Regions from separate parts of the Homo sapiens genome. Here regions 1, 2, 3, 4, 5 and 7 are each linked to region 6. Evidence: promoter capture Hi-C in 16 types of primary human blood cells and fetal thymus (Javierre and others, 2016). All regions are on one chromosome and are shown on one strand. The core of a region is centred on a gene start or on the middle of the fragment in contact, and the rest is flanking DNA. Distances in the headings are between cores, read along the strand shown.

What was found. The method cuts DNA at HindIII sites, captures the fragments that hold promoters and counts their contacts. A CHiCAGO score of 5 or more calls a contact.
Region 1: a contact is called between a fragment that was not itself captured here and the fragment with the promoter of GDI1 in region 6, in 3 of 17 cell types (monocytes, total B cells and total CD8 T cells). The highest score is 6.2, in monocytes.
Region 2: a contact is called between a fragment that was not itself captured here and the fragment with the promoter of GDI1 in region 6, in 1 of 17 cell types (M0 macrophages). The highest score is 5.2, in M0 macrophages.
Region 3: a contact is called between a fragment that was not itself captured here and the fragment with the promoter of GDI1 in region 6, in 4 of 17 cell types (naive CD8 T cells, monocytes, total CD8 T cells and 1 more). The highest score is 8.2, in naive CD8 T cells.
Region 4: a contact is called between a fragment that was not itself captured here and the fragment with the promoter of GDI1 in region 6, in 10 of 17 cell types (total CD8 T cells, naive CD8 T cells, naive B cells and 7 more). The highest score is 12.4, in total CD8 T cells.
Region 5: a fragment that was not itself captured here is called in contact with the fragment with the promoter of GDI1 in region 6 in 9 of 17 cell types (total B cells, activated CD4 T cells, total CD4 T cells and 6 more); the score reaches 8.5 in total B cells.
Region 7: a fragment that was not itself captured here is called in contact with the fragment with the promoter of GDI1 in region 6 in 5 of 17 cell types (naive CD8 T cells, neutrophils, naive B cells and 2 more); the score reaches 7.9 in naive CD8 T cells.

The regions. Positions count from the first base shown.
Region 1 is chrX:154,023,224-154,026,178 of GRCh38, forward strand. It overlaps MECP2 (methyl-CpG binding protein 2), which reads right to left. Exons shown (of 3, transcript NM_001110792.2): 3 at 1-2,955. Among named protein-coding and RNA genes, the nearest start is that of MIR718, 4.7 kb to the left of the region's middle. The HindIII fragment of the contact is 1,710 bases long and covers 795-2,504 here.
Region 2 is chrX:154,776,853-154,779,755 of GRCh38, forward strand. It overlaps DKC1 (dyskerin pseudouridine synthase 1), which reads left to right. Exons shown (of 15, transcript NM_001363.5): 15 at 1-837. The coding sequence ends at 15. It overlaps MPP1 (MAGUK p55 scaffold protein 1), which reads right to left. Exons shown (of 12, transcript NM_002436.4): 12 at 1,832-2,501. The coding sequence ends at 2,325. Among named protein-coding and RNA genes, the nearest start is that of SNORA56, 3.3 kb to the left of the region's middle. The HindIII fragment of the contact is 1,744 bases long and covers 578-2,321 here.
Region 3 is chrX:153,999,615-154,002,585 of GRCh38, forward strand. No RefSeq gene overlaps it. Among named protein-coding and RNA genes, the nearest start is that of IRAK1, 19 kb to the right of the region's middle. RefSeq lists enhancers at 611-1,111, 2,657-2,801, 2,754-2,803 and a cis regulatory region at 2,724-2,734. The HindIII fragment of the contact is 1,733 bases long and covers 798-2,530 here.
Region 4 is chrX:154,040,467-154,043,739 of GRCh38, forward strand. All of the region lies in intron 1 of MECP2 (methyl-CpG binding protein 2), which reads right to left. Among named protein-coding and RNA genes, the nearest start is that of MIR718, 22 kb to the left of the region's middle. RefSeq lists an enhancer at 582-1,082. The HindIII fragment of the contact is 203 bases long and covers 1,613-1,815 here.
Region 5 is chrX:153,963,782-153,966,814 of GRCh38, forward strand. It overlaps HCFC1 (host cell factor C1), which reads right to left. Exons shown (of 26, transcript NM_005334.3): 2 at 797-945; 3 at 343-503. Among named protein-coding and RNA genes, the nearest start is that of HCFC1-AS1, 3.5 kb to the right of the region's middle. RefSeq lists enhancers at 1,899-2,557, 2,558-3,033. The HindIII fragment of the contact is 550 bases long and covers 1,024-1,573 here.
Region 6 is chrX:154,435,586-154,438,403 of GRCh38, forward strand. GDI1 (GDP dissociation inhibitor 1) reads left to right here and starts at 1,569. Exons shown (of 11, transcript NM_001493.3): 1 at 1,569-1,714. The coding sequence starts at 1,670. It overlaps ATP6AP1 (ATPase H+ transporting accessory protein 1), which reads left to right. Exons shown (of 10, transcript NM_001183.6): 10 at 97-931. The coding sequence ends at 306. RefSeq lists an enhancer at 1,101-1,601. The HindIII fragment of the contact is 14,364 bases long and covers 1-2,818 here.
Region 7 is chrX:154,059,945-154,062,916 of GRCh38, forward strand. The region is part of intron 1 of MECP2 (methyl-CpG binding protein 2); the gene reads right to left. Among named protein-coding and RNA genes, the nearest start is that of MECP2, 36 kb to the right of the region's middle. The HindIII fragment of the contact is 6,601 bases long and covers 1-2,972 here.

The DNA of each region.
Region 1 (2,955 bases), core at 400-2,899, 410 kb before region 6:
AAATTCCTTTCACCCACCAAAAATTACACAAATATAAGCCTCAACACCACAGTTAAGAGGACCAGTAGAGAGAACCTCATGTTTGGAACACAAAAGGAGAAATAAAAACCAAACCAAACCCAAACAGAAAAACCCCAGAAAGACAAGTAAAGGGCAAAGAAGGAAGGGGAAGGGGAGCAAACACAGCACACGTTACAGTGTCCAGATACACGGGAGCCCAGCATGGGCAAGGGCTCGGCACACATTGAGTAACAGTCCTGGTGATATTTGGTCATATATTCATTGACTACTGACTCTGGAGCGGCTGTTATTGATTGAAGCAGTGACAAATCAAACGGAAAGGAGGCCGTGGTAGCAAGGGAAGGAGCAGGCTTCAAGTTCTGCAAGCCTTTTGCACTCCACTGTCCAGCTCCCCAGAAACACTGAACCGGGTGGGCCCCGCTCCATCCGGGCAGGGCTAGAGGTCACCGGGTGAGGCTAACTCGGGCGTCGATTTCATGTCAGTCAGAAAACACGCACGTGGACGCACGCAGACACCCACCTGTTCACGGCCAAACATCAGCGGCAACGGCCTCCTCGCCTCCTCTGCCCCTATCCCAGGCTGGGTGGGAAAGAGCATCATGACCCACTGCTAACACTGAACACACGCCGGAGCTGGCCCCGGATGTGGGCCCAGAGGCTGCCCCAGCCCTGGTCCTCCGAAGGGCTCACGGGTAGCCCGGCCACTGAAAGGGCCTATGGCTGTTTTTCTTTTGGATTCAGGCCTCAGAAGAAGCAATGACAGCAGGGAGGGAAGCTTTTGGCCCTGGTGATTATAATGCTCTCTGCTTTGGAAGAACAAGTTTCTGGATTTTTTTGGTGTTTCTAATTATTAAAAAAAGATGATCAAAAAGAACTGTTACAGCTAAACTCTCTAGCAGATATTGCTCATTAAGAATTACAAAAGCAAATGCAATTACTCGTAGGATGGGGGAGAAGAAAGGGACATTTCTGGAGTCTTCACTACTCCTGGAGGGGACCCCTTGGACTGACGCACATGATTCTGGGGTCCCTGGCGTTCTACCTGGTGCAGCTCACAGGTTCCGAGACAGGCCAGGCCTCCCGTCTCCGCTCCAGCCCCCAGGCTCGACAGAGTGGGAAGGATGAAACACACTCGGACCCTACTGGCAGGGAGGCCTGCGAGGCTGACTCCACATGGGCTCACCCTGACCAGGTCACGGGAAGGGGACTGGGGGAGTCAGGCCACCCCAGTGGACTCCAGCTCCCAGAGGTGGAAGGCGACCAGGCTGTGCCGACTACGTTCCGGACTTCAGCAGGTCAAGGGAGCGCTCCTGCACCCAGAACCTTGGGACCTCTTTCACAAGCACGGGAGAAACAAGAGTGCAAAACCTGGGTGCTGCCTGGAGCCTCCTTCACCTGGCACAGGAAAGCCCTTGAAAGAAGCGAGGAAAAGACCACGAATCTGCTTGGACAGAAGAAGTGACCAGCAGACAGATTTGTCGTTTTTTTTTCTTTTTTTTCTTTTTTTATTTTCCCTTGTCCTATGCTATGGTTATCAGAAATATTGTAATTAAGCAACAGGTATAATTTTAACAGGTCTTTTTTTGTGTGTGTGGAGCCACAAGCAAAATGAGTTTATAATTGTGCAATATACAGATATATATATAAAAATTCAACTGCTTTGTGTGTCTAGTCGGTGCGTTAAATAAAAGGGACAGAAAAACTAAAAGCAAAACTAAAAAGCAAAACAAAAGCCCAGGATAGAGGAGACAAAGCAGGCCTATGCGCACAGTCTATGTGTTACTGGATATAATCAGGGTCACCAGGAAGAACAGCTTTGCCACTTGACACACAAACACTGCGGGGAGAGGGGCTATCAGTGGGCAGGAGCCAAACCTCTTGGCCTTTTCACCTCATCTGCTCTCACTGCTGAGCAGGACCTGATTAAAGGTAGGACAGAATGGGGGTTTGGGGGCAAAGAGATTTCCAAATTCCCCAAATGTTCTTGAATTCAAAGGTAGGATTTCCTCCAGGGTCTGGGCTCTGCCTGTGCACAAGTCGGAGCCCGGAGCGGGAGCTGGGGGTTGTGCTCCCTCCTTGCACTGCCCTCACACCTGCTTCCTTCTGCCTCCTGACAGGGCAGGCAGGGGGCCTTGGGGAGGCAGTGAGAGGCCAGCTCAGAAGGCTCAGCTGATCCGAGGCGAGCAGAGCAGGAGTGGGCAAGGCAGGCTGCCCCTCAGGCAGAAGTGCCTTCCTAGTTCCCTGGGTGTTTTCCTGACACGTCAGCGCTGGGGCAGGCTCTGTCAAGATGAGAAGAGTGGGAAGGAGGGTGGTGCTGGGCCTTCCAGGTCACTGGTGAACGCTCCACCTTCCATACCACTCCCAAAAGACAGGTTCAGAAGCCATGTCCTCAGGTCGGCTACCTCCAGATTCCCCTTGCCTGTAATGCTCACCAGGCATCTCAGGCCAAGTGCTAAGTATTTTTAGATCAGCACTGTTGTAAAAGCTTGCTCGTATTCATTCAAAAACATCGAAATGTAATTTTCTGCCAAATGTTTTCTAGGTTTTCCTTCTAAATTGTTGAGAACTGACTTCAGTGTTCAGCTTTTCCCCTCTAATATGTAATTTTAGACCCTGGGGGAGGCAGTATCCTAACGATTTATAACAAGTAGACTATGCCTTTTCTAAAGATTGATACAATATCTAAAAGAGAAAGACACCAAAATGGAGAGAATCAACAAATCCCGTCAGAGCAGAGAGAAGAGTAGGAAGACCCGGAGGGAGCAGGGCTCTGCCCCCCCACCGGGCAGGTCCTCCAGACCCACTCCATGGTAGGAACTCTAGAAACAGCTGACTCCCTGAAGTCTAGGACACAGGTCCTAGAATCTGCAGGTGTGAACTTGAAACAGGAATCCATTTGGGGCAATGACACAGGCTAAAAATGTATATGCCCAA
Region 2 (2,903 bases), core at 200-2,699, 340 kb after region 6:
TTGGTTTCTGAGTAGTGAAGGCCACTTGAAGCTGGAGGAGAAACTAAAGCCTTATTGAGAAAACATGTTATAGATCCTTTTGTTGCTGAGAGAGTGGAACATAGGTCCTAGACAGGGTGAAGAGTTCTGGCACATTTTAGCTGCTACTTTGAGACCTCGGTGATGTTACCTGGTGTGGTCATCCCATCTTGTCCTGTTTTAAGGATATGGGTGGTGAAAGATGAAAGAGGCAGAGTTTATCCCAATGACTTCTCTGTTTGAGTTGGGAAGCCTCACCTTCAGACCCAGTAACTGTCCGCAGCTGTCTGCTAGTGGTTGTCTTAACATCGTAGTCCTAGTTTGCATTTTTTAAATCCCCTCTGTTTAAAAGGTTTGTAAAACAAAAACAAAAAACTAAGTCTGCTCAGTGAAATGCTGTAGAACCCTAAATAAGTGGTAGAAGAGTGTCACTGAATTTTGTCTCTGAATTCAGTATAACTGAGTTTTGTCCATGCTGGTGTCTGGGTTATAGGCCTGATGGGCCTGGTAGTTTTCCATCTTGTTCTGGCCTAGAGGTCAGTCCTTTGCACTTCCTCAAAGCTTGTGTACAGTGCTCACCTAAATCCATCTGACTACTTGTTCCTGTGCCCTCTTGTTTTAGGCCTCGTTTACTTTTAAAAAATGAAATTGTTCATTGCTGGGAGAAGAATGTTGTAATTTTTACTTATTAAAGTCAACTTGTTAAGTTTTTTATGTATTCCTGTTGGGTTTTCTTGTTGATCTCATGCTAGCAGAGCAAAAATTGTAAAATATTTTGATTAAAAATCTAGGGACCTTTATGTCCTATTTGAAATGTGATGCTTTTATGTTTGTTTTCTGGTTTTTACATTTTTGTTCTGTATCTTACACAATCCACCTTGGGCCCTGTCATCTGATGTGAGATCAAGTACTCAGAGGCAGTGATTACCACAAAACCACTGATCTCTAGAAGAACAGAGAAGGAGAGGGTTAATGTATTTATACATAGTGGGCCTGGCAGGAGCGGGGGGCAGGGTGAGTCGGGAGAACGAAGCTGAGGGTGGGGACATGCAGGAATCTGAAGGCCTTGGTGACAGATTAGTGGAAGAAAGGTCTAGGGTTGCTTCCGATTTGGTATTAAGAACCAAGAAAGAGGCCGGGTGCAATGGCTCACACCTATAATCCCAGTGCTTTGGGAGGCTGAGGCGGGCAGATCACCCGAGGTCAGGAGTCTGAGACCAGCCTGGGCCAACATGGCAAAACCCATCTCTACTACAAATACAAAAATTAGCCAGGTGTGGTGGCGTGTGCCTGTAATCCCAGCTACTCGGGAGGCTGAGGCAGGAGAATCCCCTGGAACCTGGGAGGTGGAGGTTGCAGTGAGCCGAGATCCTGCCACTGCACTCCAGCCTGGCAAAACAGACTGTCTCAAAAAAAAAAAAAAAAAAAAAAAAAAAAAAGCGCTCTTGGATGCAGCGAGGCGAGGCCCTGAGCTGTAGCCATATCATGAGCCAGGCATGCAGGGTGGGCCCCAGCCCTGGCTCAGCGACCGGCCTCCACTGTACCACGGGACCCCAGGCTTGGATTTTCTCTCGTTCTAAATATGTGCCCACAATGAGCGCTCCACTAGCTACAACAACCTTAAGGGTGTTTTTCTACATGGGCACTAGCCAGTAGAGCCCTGCAGTGGGGGCAGAGAATGGGGACTCTTCCAGGGCACCAGTGTTTATCATCTGAACACAAGAGAGGCATCTTGTGTTAATGCTGTTGTCCAGGAGCTTAAGTGAAATGGGCCACATTTCTTTTTGTGTGGAAACCCAGAGTTACAAGGTCATTGGCATTTCAACACAGCATTTTTATTGCTTTTGAAGGTTTCCCTAGAGCAGACATCATTCTATTGCACAGATGTGTCATTTTGGCATTATAGAAAGTTGCAGTTAAAAACGCTTTCTCCAAAATAAAAAGACAAATGAAATACCCAGCATATACAGTTGAAGGCAAAGGAGGGCAGGCTTTAGAGGGATGGGGTCCATTGCTTTTGCTGTGCATCACCCTTGATTAGCAGTTACATTTTGGTAGTACTTCTTACCCCCAATTTCTAGAAATCCTTTTCAAATCCAGATCAGTGGGGCCCCATCTATCAGGAGAATCAACCCTTCAGGAGCCTGAGCAAGAAGACTGAACCTTACTGGCTGAATTAGGATAGCTGCAGAGAGCTGGAAGCTGACACAAAACTAGTTGGAGCAGCCCTGTTTGTCTTAAAGCAAGGCGGGTGGAATTCCAAATGCTGGAGAGGGGCATACAGTGGGTTCCCCCATTCTACAAGCTTAGTAAACCCAGGAGACAGGCACCCACTGTGGAGAACTGCACGCTTGGTCGAAGGCTTCTTGTAATTTCTTAAGGGTTTCATCAACACCATTATTGACCAGTGAGAGGTCAAAGTAGTGAGCGTACTGGCTGCGGATGGCCTCAGAGTCCTTCTGCAGCTGCTGCAGGGCTTCTGTCTGCAAAGAAGAAAGCCACAGATGAAGCAAGCTGCACCACCCCCAGCCCAGAGAGGCCAGTGACAGATTTTAAACAGCAATTGTTAGCGTTGCTCAGCTGTGCATCATACTTGACGAGTCAAATTCAGAAGACATTGTGAAAGAATGTTAATGTAGGGCATGAAGAGGCAATCTCAAAAGACCATGGCAATTCTCAGAGGATCTCAAGCTAACCCTGACTAATCAGAGTCCTCTGGAGGACCAATAGCTATGCAGAGACAGCATGGACTTCACCAGCATCTCCCACTTAATGCCCTTTGAACATGGAAGAGCCATTTCAACAACCACCAGAGCTGCAATCCTAAAACGAAGATAAAGGTGATTTTGTTGTTTTGTTTTGTTTTGAGACAGTGTCTTGCTCTG
Region 3 (2,971 bases), core at 414-2,913, 440 kb before region 6:
ATCCCCGTGATAAACAGTTCTGGGACCTGTTGCTCTGCCACACAATCCTGAGAACTAGCACAAGTCAATTCGCTTGCAGGACCAACACACCCATGCTCCTGAAAGATGAGACTCGCAGAGCCCGGCCCGAGACTGCACCCAGCCGTCCAAGGCTGACCATGCTTCCCACCCGGCCCTCCCCACGCCGGCTCGGACTTCGGGCATTTTCTCTCCTCCTTTCCTCCCTGGTGATCTGAGGCCGGCTCTGTCGGGGGAGTGTTCTTCCTCTTTGCAGTGAGTCCAATAAACTCAGCTTTGCCTGAACAACAGGTTTTTCTGGTGGTGATTTTGGGGAGTCTACAGCCAACAGCTGAAATTGGGAAAACGGGGCGGGGGTGGGGAATCCCTTTTTGTTTTTTGTTTTTATTTTTTACAGTAAAGTGAAAGCAAGTTTATTAGGAAGATAGAGGAATAAAAGAATGGCTGCTCCATAGACAGGGCAGCTGGGAATCCCTTTTAGCACCTGGTGGCTGCAGATGGGTAGAAATACAGACCATATTTGGTTCTTAGTTTAATTAGCCAGAGACGCAGAACAGGGTGGGAAGCCAGACGGCCACACCTAGCACCTCATCAGGCTGCAGCCAACCAGGGCCTCTCGGGGCTGGGAAAACTCGATTCTTGCTGTACTTGGGCTTACTCGGCTCTCCATCTTATGCAAACACCTCTCCTTATGAAAGGCAAGAAGAATTTGTTCTACACTGGGGATGGGTTGTGCCTGTCACATGGAGCAGCCTGGGGACCTAGAGGGACCCTTTAGAAGCTTAGCACCTAGCAATTCCTTTTCACATGTGACTCATGGTCTATTCAGTTTTAGTACTTCTTTTTTTTTTGACAGAGTTTTGCTCTGTCACCCAGGCTGGAGTGCAATGGCGCGATCTCTGCTCACCGCAACCTCTGCCTCCCAGGTTCAAGTGATTCTCCTGCCTCAGCCTCCCAAGTAGCTGGGATTACGGGCACGCGCCACCACGCCTGGCTAATGTTGTATTTTTAGTAGAGACGGGGTTTCTCCACGTTGGTCAGGCTGGTCTTGAACTCCCAACCTCAGGTAGTCCCCCTGCCTCGGCCTCTCAAAGTGCTGGGATTAAAGGCGTGAGCCACCACGCCCGGCTTTTTTTTTTTTTTTTTTGAGATGGAGTCTTGCTCTGTCGCCCAGGCTGGAGTGCAGTGGCACCATCTCAGCTCCCTGCAACCTCCGCCTCTTGGGTTCAAGCAATTCTCTGCTTCACCCTCCCACGTAGCTGGGATTACAGGTGCCCACCACCATGCCCGGCTAATTTTTGGATTTTTAGTAGTGACGGGGTTTCACCATCTTGGCCAGGCTGGTCTTGAACTCCTGACCTCGTGATCCATGGCGCCTGGCCTACTACTTCTTTATTCATTTATTTTTTGAGACGGAGTCTCGCTCTGTCACCCATGCTGGAGTGCAGTGGCACGATCTCGGCTCATTGCAACCTCCACCTCCCGGGTTCAGCTTCCCGGATAGCTGGGACTACAGGTGCGCGCCACCACGCCCAGCTAATATTTTGTATTTTGTAAGTAGAGACGTGGTTTCACCGTGTTGGCCAGGGTGGTCTCAAACTCTTGACCTCAAGTGATCTGCCTGCCTCGGCCTCCCAAAGTGCTGGGATTACAGGCGTGAGCCACTGTGCTTGGCGCAGTTTTACTACTTCTTGAGACAACTCTGAAGATTTCTATTTTTCACAGAAAGTCATTCAGTTAATCTAGACTTTTCAAATGTATTGCCATAAAGTTATATTTACTATTTTAAAATTTTAATTTCCTCCTTAACCCAACATTTATTTAAAAGGGTCATTTCAGCCGGGCGTGGTGGCTCACGCCTGTAATCCCAGCACTTTGGGAGGTCGAGGCAGGTGGATCACCTGAGGTCAGGAGTTTGAGACCAGCCTGGGCAACATAGTGAGACCCCATCTCTACAGAAAAATAAAAAATTAGCCGGGCGTGGTGGCACACATCTGTAGTCCCAGCTCCTCGGGAGGCTGAGATGGGAGGATCACTTGAACCTGGGAGGTCGAGGTTGCAGTGAGCCATGATCGCACCACTGCACTCCAGCCTGAGTGACAGAGCCAGATCCTGACTGCTGCTCATAGAGATCTCGCCTAAAGATCTTGCCTAAGTGCAAAAACACACACACACAGAAACTGGAACAACCGAACTGACCCTTTGGGGAGGCTGGCGAAATAAATGACATGGAGTACATTCATACAGCTCTAAAAAAGGACAAAAGTCAGGGACATCTGTGTCCAGGGAACACTCTCGATTTGTCTTGTTAAGTGAAACTGGCGAGGCGTGGAATCATGAGAGAAGCGTGAGTAGAGGGGACTTAAACCAGGGACTGGTGGCCACAGCTAGTGTTAGCCAGGGGACTGGAGGCTGGGAGACTGAGAAGGAGATTTTCTTACTTCGTACGTGTCTGTACTGTTTGGATTTTTTTTTTTTTTTTTTTTTTGAGAGGGTATTTTTTAAAAGGAAAAGCTTGTTTTGTTTTTCTTTTTAAAAAATAGGCTCTAAAAATTCTGGAGAGAAATAAAAAAGGCAACATGGTGGCCGGGTATGGGCGTCTCTTCTGATTCCAGGCTGGTTGGCACTGGCCACCTTGCTCAATGGTTGCCTTAGAAACCGGCCTAGCGAGGGGGTGTCAGTTGTCTCTGGTAGCCATTAAGGCAGTGACTCAGCAGAAAACCCAACCCAAGAGGGAGTTGTTCATTCACTGACTTTCCTTCTCTCCCAGAAAAGCATGGGTGAGGCCATTTCTGTTACATTTGCGATCGGGTGGCAGCTGCTCCGCCGTGAAGGCGGTAGCGAGAAGTCTGCCCGCTCCTCCAGCCTCTCACTAGGTGAGTGGCGTCTCTGTGCTGCCCTGTCCCTCAGAAACCACAGGTTCCGGTCCCTCTGCCAGCCTGTCCCCTGTCTC
Region 4 (3,273 bases), core at 464-2,963, 390 kb before region 6:
GAGACTGAAGGGATGACACAATCGAATACAACACACAGTCCTGGACTCTGCATTCCAGGCTCAAAGGCTCTAAAAAAGGCATTTATGGGGTATGTGGAGAAATGTAAGGTTCTGTGTTAGCTCATTGCTAAACTTCCTGAGTGTCTTAACTGTACTGTCTGCTCTTAGGAAAGGCATGCTTAAACGTTTAGGAGTGAAACAGCACGAGGACTATGACTAACTCTCAAGTGATCAATGGGCTAGGGGAAATACAGTGCCAATATGGTAACATGTTTAAAAGAAGGGAGATGACATCAATATAATCAGAAGCTATGCCAACTGACAGTAATATTTTGAAGCAGTGGTAGGCAAGCTTTTTAACAATTAAAGAGAATGCCTTCATATTACACAAAGACATTAAGAAAAAAAGCTGAAGGCTGGGCACGGAGGCTCACACCTGTAATCCCAGCACTTTGGGAGGCTGAGGTGGGCGGATCACGAGGTCAGTTCGAGGCCATCCTGACCAACATGGTGAAACCCCCTCTCTACTAAAAATAAAAAATTAGCCAGGTGTGGTGGCGCGCACAAAGGGACCGGGGCGGTGCTGGCGGCGATGCCAACAGACCTCAGTGTACTGTGGGGTTCTTTCAGCCAGAACTGTTCATGGTTTCATCAGTGAGCTCCAGTTACCACACCACACAAGTTTGGAGTGATCCACCCCGCCCCAGTTTTTCCTGCACGAACTCATGTTTTTATTGTGTGATTTACAGAACACAAGATCTTTTTCTAAGAATGCACACATCACACGTTGAAGCAGAAAGGCCTTTACAAAATCTTAAAATACCTACAAAATATGAAGTAAGGCTCTTAAGAAATAAAATATTCAATGATTTTGCTGCTAGAATGCAAACATTAGATCAAATCCTTCATTTGATCTAGCAAAGGAAAATTAGAGTTGCAGGAATCTTGTTTTCAGGCCAAACCATGACATCCTGAGGGGTCTGATGGCAGGAACTGCCTGCATTTTCCTCATGAATGTGACCTGCAGTGATCTTGTGAGAAAGGCCCGGAAGGCCGTGCAAATTACAGGGGTACAAGCAACAGCTGGCAGGTGTGGCCAGACAGGCAACTGCAGTTAAGGAAAGACTACTCAATCCCTGAGGTTTTCAGATTTTACAAAAAGGCAAAAAAGCCAGGTGAACAAGGCAGATGAAAGGTATTTTTCACTTGAATTGGAATCCAGCCCCCTCCCTGTCCCCTGGAGTGAGCTCCAGAGAAACTTCCAGAGCCCCAGCAATATCCCAACCTTTCGTAAATTCACTCATGCTCGCCACTTTCAGGAGATGGCATTTCTCAGCACCTTTCACTTCCAGTTATCCCTCGGCACAGCACAAAGAGCTAAACTACCACTCGAGGCAGTTAACCTAAGGGCAGGGTGGTGGCTACAGCTCCAGGTGAACAGTCTGGGACCAGAGGAAATAATGAGCCCCCCCTTGTACTGGCTGCTTCCACCCTAAAGTGTCATCCAGATGGTGTTTCCAATTCTTTCTACTTCCAGTATTAGCTGCAGAATTACGGAATCAAGGAGGCTTCTCTGCATGAATCAATAAAGGCTATAGCACTTTGAGACACAAGCTTTGGCCCTTTAAAAATGTGAGAAATCAAACTGGCACAGGCAGAGTGTCTCAGTGGTCTCCAGGGAGCAAGAGAGAATGAGGTTCAGCTTGAAGGCTACAAGGGTGGAGCCTGAGGTTCAGCTGCCCTGCTCTGAATTCGCAGTCCATTTCTTAATCCTCCACTTTTGAGAAGATGCGAGAAACCAGTTATGTTTTGCTAAGCTTAAATAAAATGCAGTTCTTGCCAACCAAAAGCAGAACCCTCCCCAAATACAGGCAACCAGTGCCATACAGCAAATCTCATCTTTATAGATGTGTAAAATGAAAACCGAAACACAAGCCCACCACATACAGGTTAAAAAATTCCTGCTGTGGAGAACAGTTTGGCAGTTTCTCAAATGTTAAACATGGAGTTACCATATGACCTGGCAATTTTACTCCTAGCCATACACTCTCAAAAAGCCACAACTATGCCGGGTGCGGTGGCTCACGTCTGTAATCCCAGCACTTTGGGAGGCTGAGGTGGGTGGATCACCTGAGGTCAGGAGTTTGAGACCAGCCTGGCCAATATGGCGAAACCTTGTCTCTACTAAAAATACAAAAAAATTTAGCCGGGCATGGTGGTGAGTGCTACCTGTAGTCCCAGCTACTCAGGAGACTGAGGCAGGAGAATTGCTTGAACCTGGGAGGTGGAGGTTGCAGTGAGCAGAGATCGTGCCACTGTAATCCAGCCTGGGCGACAGAGCAAGACCTTGTCTCAAAAAACCAAAACAAACAAACAAAAAACCAAAACCAGTAACCAAACAGATATCCGTACACCAGTGTTCATGGCAGCACAGTTTACAACAGCCAAATGGTGGGGGCAACCCAAATATGCATTCCCAAGGGATGGGTGGATAATCAAAACCTCATTATCTATAGGATATAATATCATTCAGCCTCAAAAAGGAAAGAAATTCTGACACATGCTACAATGCAGATGAACCTTGAGGACATTACGCTCAGTGAAAGAGGCCAGACACAAAAGGCCAAATAGTGCATAATTCCATTTATAGGAAATGTCCAGAATAGGCAAATCCATAGAGACAGGAAGTGGATGAGTTGTTGCCAGGGGCTGCGGGTAATAAGAGGTGACTGCTCCTGTGTCTGGGGTTTCTTTTGGGTGCTGAAAGTGTTCTGGAATGACACAGAGGCGATGGTTGCACAACTCTGTGAATGTACTAAAAGACACTGAATTGCACATTTTATTTTTAAACAATTTTTTCTGTGAGCCTATGAATTATACTGAAGAATGAATTGTACACTTTAAATGAGTAAATTTCATGGTATGTGAATTATATCTAAATTAAAAAAAACAACAACATTAAAACAGCAGCTGACCACCAATTATTCTAAATCATAAAGATAGGTTTTGTGATGCCTGGCCAGTGCTCAGAGCCCACACAGCTGTCTCAGAGCAAGTCTATCTGGCTGTGGCACAGAGCCCCGGCAGATAGATGGGCTGTCCGTCTGAGGAAGAGGCCAATGTGGGGACCTATAGTGATACATGACAGACTGGACCAAGCCAACCTGAATGTGAAACTCTGAAGCCCAGGACACAATAACCATGACAATCAGAAAGGAATTTAGTTCAAGAAGTTTAATGAGTAGGCATTTAGCCAAGTGGAAGGTTGTTGGC
Region 5 (3,033 bases), core at 49-2,548, 470 kb before region 6:
GGCCTTGGAAAATACCCATCAGGAAACTTGTAGGCAGCGGAGGCTGAGAAGGAACGCGAGCAGCTCTAAGCCGACTCCGAGAGCTGGGCCAGCCCAAGGCAAAGTGGCTTCCACCTCCAGCTTGGCCCTCCTCCCACGAGGCCTGCTCAGGGTCAGTAGCGATTTTGGAGCCCGAAAGCTCCTGAGAGGGCATCCGGTGCCGCTCTCTCATTTACAACCCAGCACGAGAAAGGGACCCGGCCACGGGGCTCTGCTGCGCACATTCTTTAGGACACCATGGAGCCCTGTGCATGTGAGAGCACACCCACCCGGGGGGTTCCAGAGAAAAGGACCAAGCCTCACCTTGGAATGTTGTTCTTTGGGTCCTCGCTATCATTGGCCAGACCCCCAAACAGGTAGCATTTGTTGCCCACAAGGGAGAAGCTGTGCCCGAGTCGAGGACACGGAGGGGGCCCGTTTTTGGGCGTCTTTGCTTTGAGTCTCTTCCACTCCCACCGGCTCGCCTGCAAAATCAAGACCTGGAGACTGAACCGTGGGATGAGAAGGCCACCACTAGGGACCCGGGGCAACTTGTGGTGGAGGAGGAAATGGCCGGGGGTGAGCGAGGTGCCTTGCTGGAGCAAGAAGGTCCTGGGTGTTGGTCCTTGCTGCCTTCTTCTGAGGTGGGCCAAGTTCAGAGCAGCCTTGGCAGACTCTCAAGCGTCCCTTCCACCTCCCGCTTGCCTCAACCCTGAAGCCACTACCGTCAGGTCACATGGGGCCAAGGAGGCAGAGTGAGAACCTGGGGCTGCTTTACCTGGAGTTCGTAGAGGTCATTGCTGTATTTCCCATACTCCACCATCCCACCAAACACCAGGAGGCGAGTCCCGTCACACACGAAGCCATAGGCTGCACACCCAGGGGGAATGTCCCCCCTCACGGCTGGGATGAACCACTGGTTGGTTGCTGGGGAACAGAAGGAGGCAGAAGTCAGAACACCCGGGAGCCCCCATTCCTCTCATTCCCCAAATGTGCCAGCCGTCAAGCTTGGTGAGAGGGGCTGAGCCAGCACCATCCCTGCGGGCGCTCTAGCAACTCCAGCTGCGCTACCTGGGCCATCTTCCAAACCCCTCGACTTCAGGCCAGTGCAAAAGAGCCTGTGACCACCCTGCTTCTCGCCAAGGTCATCTTAATGAGCGGGAAGTTACTGTGCAAGATCCCTCATCAGCTACTGGGAATCTAGCCACTGCCTTCCTTCCCTAGCACTCAGTGATCAGACATGAATTTCTCCCCAAAATACCCTCTTGGTGGGCCTGTGCTCCTCCTCCCTGGAGCCCACATTTTTGTCCCTTCATCACAGGGTCAGGACAGCCAGAGCCCAGAGCAGCACTTTCAAGTGGCCAAAACAGTGACCGCTGCAGGCTACGAAGAGCCATGGGGATGAGACCCGGCCTCTGCTCTGACCTCCCGGACTTCCTCTGGTCTCCTAGGTGATGGTCCACCAGCATCCCTCCCTGCCCCTGCTGCCACACCTATGGTACTCCAGAACATTCTTGCAAGCCAGAGGCAGCAGTCTCAGCAGAGCTGTGACAGAAGCTTCTCAAAAGCTCATGAGGGTGAGGCGACCACCAAGAAAGAGGGAAATCAGACCTTAGGCACTGCTTTGCTTCCACAGGATGGCACAGCAGCCTTCAGCTGGGACCAGGCCCCTCCCTCATGTCCTCAAACTTGACTCCCCTCACACCTGGCAGGCCAGGGCTTCCCCGAAAACCTCCTCCTATGAGGGGTCCCTCAGAGGATTCACCACACTCTTTCCAGAAACCCCAAACTGGGGGCCAGGTGCAACCCCGACTCTGTGCCTCTGAGCTGGCCTGGGTGAGATCTCAGCAAGCAGACGGCAGAAGGAACTGAGGCCCCTCCACATGACTCAAGACGCAAGATGGGTCCCCCAGGACGTGACAGGGCATGGGGGGATTCCTGTGGGGTGGGAAGGCTTCCACACAGGGATGCTGTGATATTGTGATATAATACAGACTATTCAGTTTGGTGGCCAAAAGTGTTGTGAGACCATAGAAGAGGAAAAACAGTGTTTTTTTTCCATATTCAGGTGTGCACCCAGGGCCAGGCGGCTGACCATGGTTGGGAATGCATGCCCCACTGCACTCTGGTCCCACCCAGTCTCACACTGTCACCCCCAGGGCTCAATGCGGAACCGTGTGCAAGGCTAGCCCTTATCCAAAGCACAACTCCCAGCCTGGGTAGCACAGGGAGACCCCGTCTCTACAAATAATTTTAAAACACTGGCTCAGTGTGGTGGCATACACTTGTGGTCCTAGCTACTCAGGAGGCTGAGGCGGGAGGACTGCCTGACCCTCAGAGTTTGAGGCTGCAGTGAGCTGAGACCGCACCACTGCATCCCGGCCTGGGCAACAGAGCAAGACCTAACCTCAAAACAAACAAACAAACAAAAAAAACAGAAAACCCCACACAGCACAACTGTACCACCACCGCTCCTCCTGAGGCGAGAGCACCCCCACCCCGCTCTCCAGCACCCACTCTGCGGGTAGGCTTCGAGCAGGCTGACAGCCTCTGCAGCCATTCAGCTGAGTCACTGGGCCTCGGACATGCCGAGCACTAGAGCTCCCCTGCCATTTCCCTAAAGCAGAGGGACAACACCTGTGCCGCCCGCATGTGCAAGCTCGGATCCTGGCCCTCTGCCTCTTTCTCATTCCCAGTGCAAAAACCACCCCAGAAAAGCAAGAGCTGCCAAGGCCAACAGCCTTGCGCACTGGAGAGCCGTCCTGACCAATCCCTGGAGGGAGCTCCATGCAAGCTACCAGGGTAAACGCATAACGAGACCTAAGGCTGCCTGGGCCAACTGCTCTCGGTAGGTAAAGGGGCAGAGCCCAGGAGGGCAAGCGACACCTGAGGTCACAGCGTAAAACAGAGACAGAGACAACAGCCCCATCACTGACTTGAAGCAACCGATCTGTGCCTTCCCTAGGGTCCCATGTCCAGGCAGCCACCCTCACTCCCCTGAGCACCCTCGTGGTC
Region 6 (2,818 bases), core at 319-2,818:
CATGTAGTTGAGAGTCCTGTCCCTGCGCTGCCCCTGTCCCAGTTCTTGCTGGGCCTCCCAACGGTCCTTTCTGACCCGTGTCTGTGTGTCTGCCAGATCCAGGCTTTCAACGTAATGGGGGAGCAGTTCTCCTACGCCAGCGACTGTGCCAGCTTCTTCTCCCCCGGCATCTGGATGGGGCTGCTCACCTCCCTGTTCATGCTCTTCATCTTCACCTATGGCCTGCACATGATCCTCAGCCTCAAGACCATGGATCGCTTTGATGACCACAAGGGCCCCACTATTTCTTTGACCCAGATTGTGTGACCCTGTGCCAGTGGGGGGGTTGAGGGTGGGACGGTGTCCGTGTTGTTGCTTTCCCACCCTGCAGCGCACTGGACTGAAGAGCTTCCCTCTTCCTACTGCAGCATGAACTGCAAGCTCCCCTCAGCCCATCTTGCTCCCTCTTCAGCCCGCTGAGGAGCTTTCTTGGGCTGCCCCCATCTCTCCCAACAAGGTGTACATATTCTGCGTAGATGCTAGACCAACCAGCTTCCCAGGGTTCGTCGCTGTGAGGCGTAAGGGACATGAATTCTAGGGTCTCCTTTCTCCTTATTTATTCTTGTGGCTACATCATCCCTGGCTGTGGATAGTGCTTTTGTGTAGCAAATGCTCCCTCCTTAAGGTTATAGGGCTCCCTGAGTTTGGGAGTGTGGAAGTACTACTTAACTGTCTGTCCTGCTTGGCTGTCGTTATCGTTTTCTGGTGATGTTGTGCTAACAATAAGAAGTACACGGGTTTATTTCTGTGGCCTGAGAAGGAAGGGACCTCCACGACAGGTGGGCTGGGTGCGATCGCCGGCTGTTTGGCATGTTCCCACCGGGAGTGCCGGGCAGGAGCATGGGGTGCTTGGTTGTTTCCTTCCTAATAAAATAAACGCGGGTCGCCATGCGTTGGGCCTCTTGTCGCTCATTTCTGCGCTGGGCTTTAGGCGCGTGCTCGCCGGAGGGATGCGGGAGGATGGAGCCTGGCGAGGGGGAGGCGAAGAGGCATCCGCGGAGACCGGGAGGGGCTTTAGCAAGCTGGGCCCTAACCGCTCAGGGTAGGGAGGGGCGGTCGGGCCGAGTCCCGGTGCGCTTCGGCGTCTCAGGAGGCCGTCGTGACAATGGCAGCCTTCGCGTCGTGAGGGGGCCGCCCCAGGCTGCCGCAGCGGCGCGCGCCCGGCCGCGGGGCCGCGCCGAGACTCCCGGGGGGGTGGGCGGGGGTGGGGAGGTGGGCGGGCGCGCGCGGGGCGGGGCGGGGCGGGGCGCGGCGGGTGGGGCGGGGCGCGCGCGGCTCCCGCGCACGGATTCTTCCTGGGCCGCAGCACCGGCCGCCGGCCCGCCCCGCCCGCCCCGCCCCGCGCCTCTCTAGACTCTCGGCGAGCAGCGTCGCCCGCGGAGCCGCGCTGGTGCTGTGGCCCGGGCCCTGGCAGCCCTCCCGGGAGGCGAGCCGGGGAGGCGGTGGCCCCTGCCGGTTGCGGCGGGGCGCGGGAAGAGGCGGGACTCTTTGACGCGGCGGAGGGGTCGGGCGACGGCCGACGCGCCGCCATCTTTGGTCCAGTGCGGTGGCGGCGGCGGCGGTGGCGGCGGCGACTGCTGCGGTGAAGGAGGAGGAGGAGCCGAGCGGGCGCTGGCACCGAGGCCTGACCATGGACGAGGAATACGATGTGATCGTGCTGGGGACCGGTCTCACCGTAAGTGCGGCCCCGGCGCCCCTGGCCCTGCGTCGTGCCCTCGCCATCCCCCGCGATGATGCGGCCGCCGGCCCATCCTCTGGTCACTGCCATCTTCTGCGCTCCGCTCCCCGAAAAGCCGGCGCCGTGCCCACCCCGCTGCTCCCCCAGCGACGTCGCCTCTGCTCGTTGCCATGACCCCATCTCCCCGAAGAGGCCCCCTTCCTGGCCGCCTCCTGGGCTACCCGGGTCCGACCCCCGGCGCCCTCCCATCTTCCCTACCCCTGCCCGCTGGACCGGAAAACGCACCCCCACTCGGCCCGATGCCCACGACCCCGCCCACCCATCGCCCCCACCCATCACGGCATCCACCCGTCGCCCGCACCCATTGCCCGCCTAGCGTTGCCTCTCAGCGTCCGTTCCCATCTTGCGCTAATCCCGGTGGGGATGAAGTAGAAGGACCTGGGGTCAGGGGGCCTCGCCAGAGTGGGCCCTCAGCCCGCCTCCTCATCGTCTTCTGGGGCCAGGGGATCCAGGGAATGTTCCAGAAGGAACAGCAGTGGGGGCAGTAAGCACATTCCCGCAACCCCACCTCGGTTGCCCATGGAGACCTCAGGCTGGGTAGCATCTGCAGCCTTTGTCCTTGGGCTAGTGACAGTGACTGGTGAGGGTGTTTATCTTCCCCCTTTCCCCGAAAACCCCGTTGGCCTACTCCCCTCAGAGACTCTTCTTCCTCGGTCCAGGCCCAGATGCCCCTCCTCAGCGGCAGGGGCTCCTGCTATTTGAAGAAAGAGCAGTCCAGGGTGGGGCCTACAATTTCAAGGACTGTGCTAAGCCTTTCTTTTCCTCCCTTTCGAGTGTCCTTTGCAGTCCAGCTGGGTCTTCTCTGTGCCTTATTGTGTTTTATCCGCCTTTTTGTGCGGCTCTGCGTAGGTAGATGCCTCTCGGCGTGTTGGTACTGGAAGGCCATCCTGTGTCTGCTGGATGCCCTGCCTCCCTCAAAGCCTCCGTTATTTCACTCTCCGCCTTGTGAGGGGGACGGGACTCCTTTGCCCAGCAAGGTTGCAATGGAGAGTGTGGTCGGATGAAGCCATCACCCCAATTTTAGGCGAGGCAACTAGCCAG
Region 7 (2,972 bases), core at 437-2,936, 380 kb before region 6:
AGAAAGTAGAAAACCACAGAGGCCATTCTCATGGGTACTTTAAGCAGTACATCTGTTGGCAAAACACAAATGTTGTTACACAAATACTAAGCCACAGATTGCAAAGGCACCTGACAGCCTTTAAAATTCATTTCTCTTGTTTCGCAAAGCTGCACTGGGAAACTGTGCTGTTAAATTCTACACTCATAAAGGAGGTATGTTTTAAAAGAGGGGCAAATATGTGGGTGCTATTTAGACTCTCATTGATTTGTTCCATGTTTTCAGATAACTACACACCCCTCCGCCCCCGCCAAAGTAACTCAATCTCCACATATTTGCCTTTATATGTACCTTCTAACTCATGACTATGGCTTTGATTATCTCATAAACAATATTGTTCCTGTTAGCCATGGAGAAGCTAAGGAGCCAACAGCAGAGCAGGCTGCATGTTCTTCTGTCCCTCTTATAAGACAAAACCTTAGAGCAATGTCCCACTGCAGAATTTATTTGTTAATTCACTCAATAAATTAAAATATGCATGATTCTAGGCACTGGGGATATATTGAGGAAGAGGCAAAAAAAAAAATCTCTGTCCTCATGGGACTCAGATTCTATAGGGGTGGGGAGAGGGAGGGAGGGGAAGGGAGTGGGAGAGCACAAACAAAACCAAGCAGTAACACAGCTTGTGGCAGATGGTGACAAGTCCTATGCTAGGCAGGGGGAACTGGTGGGGCAGAGGCAGGCTGCCTGACTTACAGACATGGGTGTGCTCGGGGAAGGCCACATTGGGAAGGTGACACTTGAGCAGACATGTGTGATACCTGGGACAGAGGGCAGAGGAGAGGTCAAGGCCTTGAGGCAGGGGCATACTTGGAGGGTCCAGGGAGGAGCCAGGAGGCCAGTGAGGCCGCAGTGCATGAGTGGTGGGAGAGTGGCAAGAGAGGTGATCCTGTTGGGCTGTGACTCTGAGCAAGCAGGGACCCACTGGAGGGTTCTGAACAGAAGAGCACAATATTGCAGGACTAAACAAAGAACCAGGGGGCAAGGGCAGAGGCAGGGAAGCTGGACACCTGGACCAGGGTGGGGGCCATGGAGGCAGGGGAACTCATGAGATTTTGTATCCATCTTGCAGGTGGAGTAACAGTATTTGTGAACAAATGAGGTAACCAGCGCCAGGTTTCTGGCCTGAGGAGCAGGAGTTGGAGTTGCTGTTTACTGGAAAGGAGAAGACCAGGGAAAGAGAAGGTCTAGGGAGGATAAGGAGTTCCCGTGACCCAGTCAGCCTGGAGACATAAATTTGGGAGCCATGAGGCTGGACGGAATCACTTCGGGAGTGAGGGTGGAGAAGAAAAGCCTGAACCTGAGGCCTTCCAACATCACATGCGAAACAGAAAAGACCGAGGAGGACAGACATTCACACACTCACCTAGGACTTCCTGAGGACCCACAGACACCAGGCACTGTTCTAGGAGCTTGAGCTACATCTGTGAATCAAGGAGACAATCCTGTCCTGTGGAGCTTCTGCTCCAGCAGGGGTGACAGCTAAGATAAGCACAGTCAGTCATGTATTCAGCTAGAAAGAGACAAAAGCTGTGGTTTGCACTGAGAAGGTGCACATCAGTGCAGAGACTCAAGGGAGGGAAAGGATTGTCTCGTATGGGTATTGGGGTTAACTGACGACGACAGCTCTGGGAAAAGAAGTGACAAGCAGCTCCCAGATTTAACAACATGAAGGTCATCACTGGAGACCTCATGGAGCAGCTTGGCAGAGCTGTGGCAGCAAAGGAACAACTGGAGAAGGTTGAAGAGGGTGTGGAGACAGGGACTGGAGTCTTGCTGGTAAAGGAAAACAGAGATGCTAGACAGGTGGGGGGTTGGGAGCAGCTTTTGTCAAGGTGGGAGAAGTAGCAACAAGTTTCTAGGGCAGGCGAGGGAGGAATCTCTGATGGGGGAGAGTGCAGTAGAGGACTGGAGAGATGCCTTAGAACAGGAGTGAGGGCCTGGGACAGGCGCTCCGTGACAGCATGAGGGAGGCAGAGCGAAGGAGTAGACGCTGGCCTGTAGACACTCTCTTGAGCTTGCTTCTGTGCTCTCTGGGAACTAAGATATCAGCTGCAAGGAGGTGTGACAGCTGATGAGGAGGGTGGGAGGGGCTAGGAGAGACCGGGGAACTGCAGTATGCAGGTGGGCTTGGCGGCAAGAAGTTTACCTGGGGTAGACATGAACTTAAAGGGGGAATCAATGAAGGAGTCACATTCAGCTTCAGGACGGAGCAGGCATGGGGCAGACATGACTGAATTTCATGAGGCTGGGGCTTTGTCGACTGAATATAACAAAGCAAGAAAGTGCCGAAGGGCTGAGGTAGTGTGCCAGGGAGTAACGACGTCTGACTGGCACTGAAGCTACAAAGGAGAGGAATAAGGATACGAAGGAGGTGAAGTCTGAGAAAAGATGGAGCCACTGATGGATTCTAAGTGCCTGTGAGGTCAAAGGAGTATTGGAGTTGGGTATTAGAGGCAGTGAAAAGGAAAAGGATCTCCTTTTGCAGATCACAAAAAAGATAAAATGACCAGAGCTAAACAACTTTTACAGCACTATCCACTGTAAAAGTTGTTTGAGAAAAAATAAAATGTAGCCAGCCTTCAGAGCATATATGCATCTTTATTTTATTTTATTTATTGAGACCAAGTCTCACTCTGTCGCCCAGGCTGGAGTGCAGTGGCACAGTCTCAATTCACTGCAACCTCCGCCTCTGGGGTTCAAGCGATTCTCCTGCCTCAGCCTCCTGAGTAGCTGTGATTACAGGCACCCGCCACCACACCCGGCTAATTTTTATACTTTTAGTAGAGACGGTGTTTCACCATGTTGGCCAGGCTGGTCTTGAACCCCTGACCTCAGGTGATCTGCCCGCCTTGGCCTCCCAAAGTGCTGGGATTACAGGTGTGAGCCACCACACCCAGCCCAGAGCATATGCATCTTTAAAAAGTTGTCTT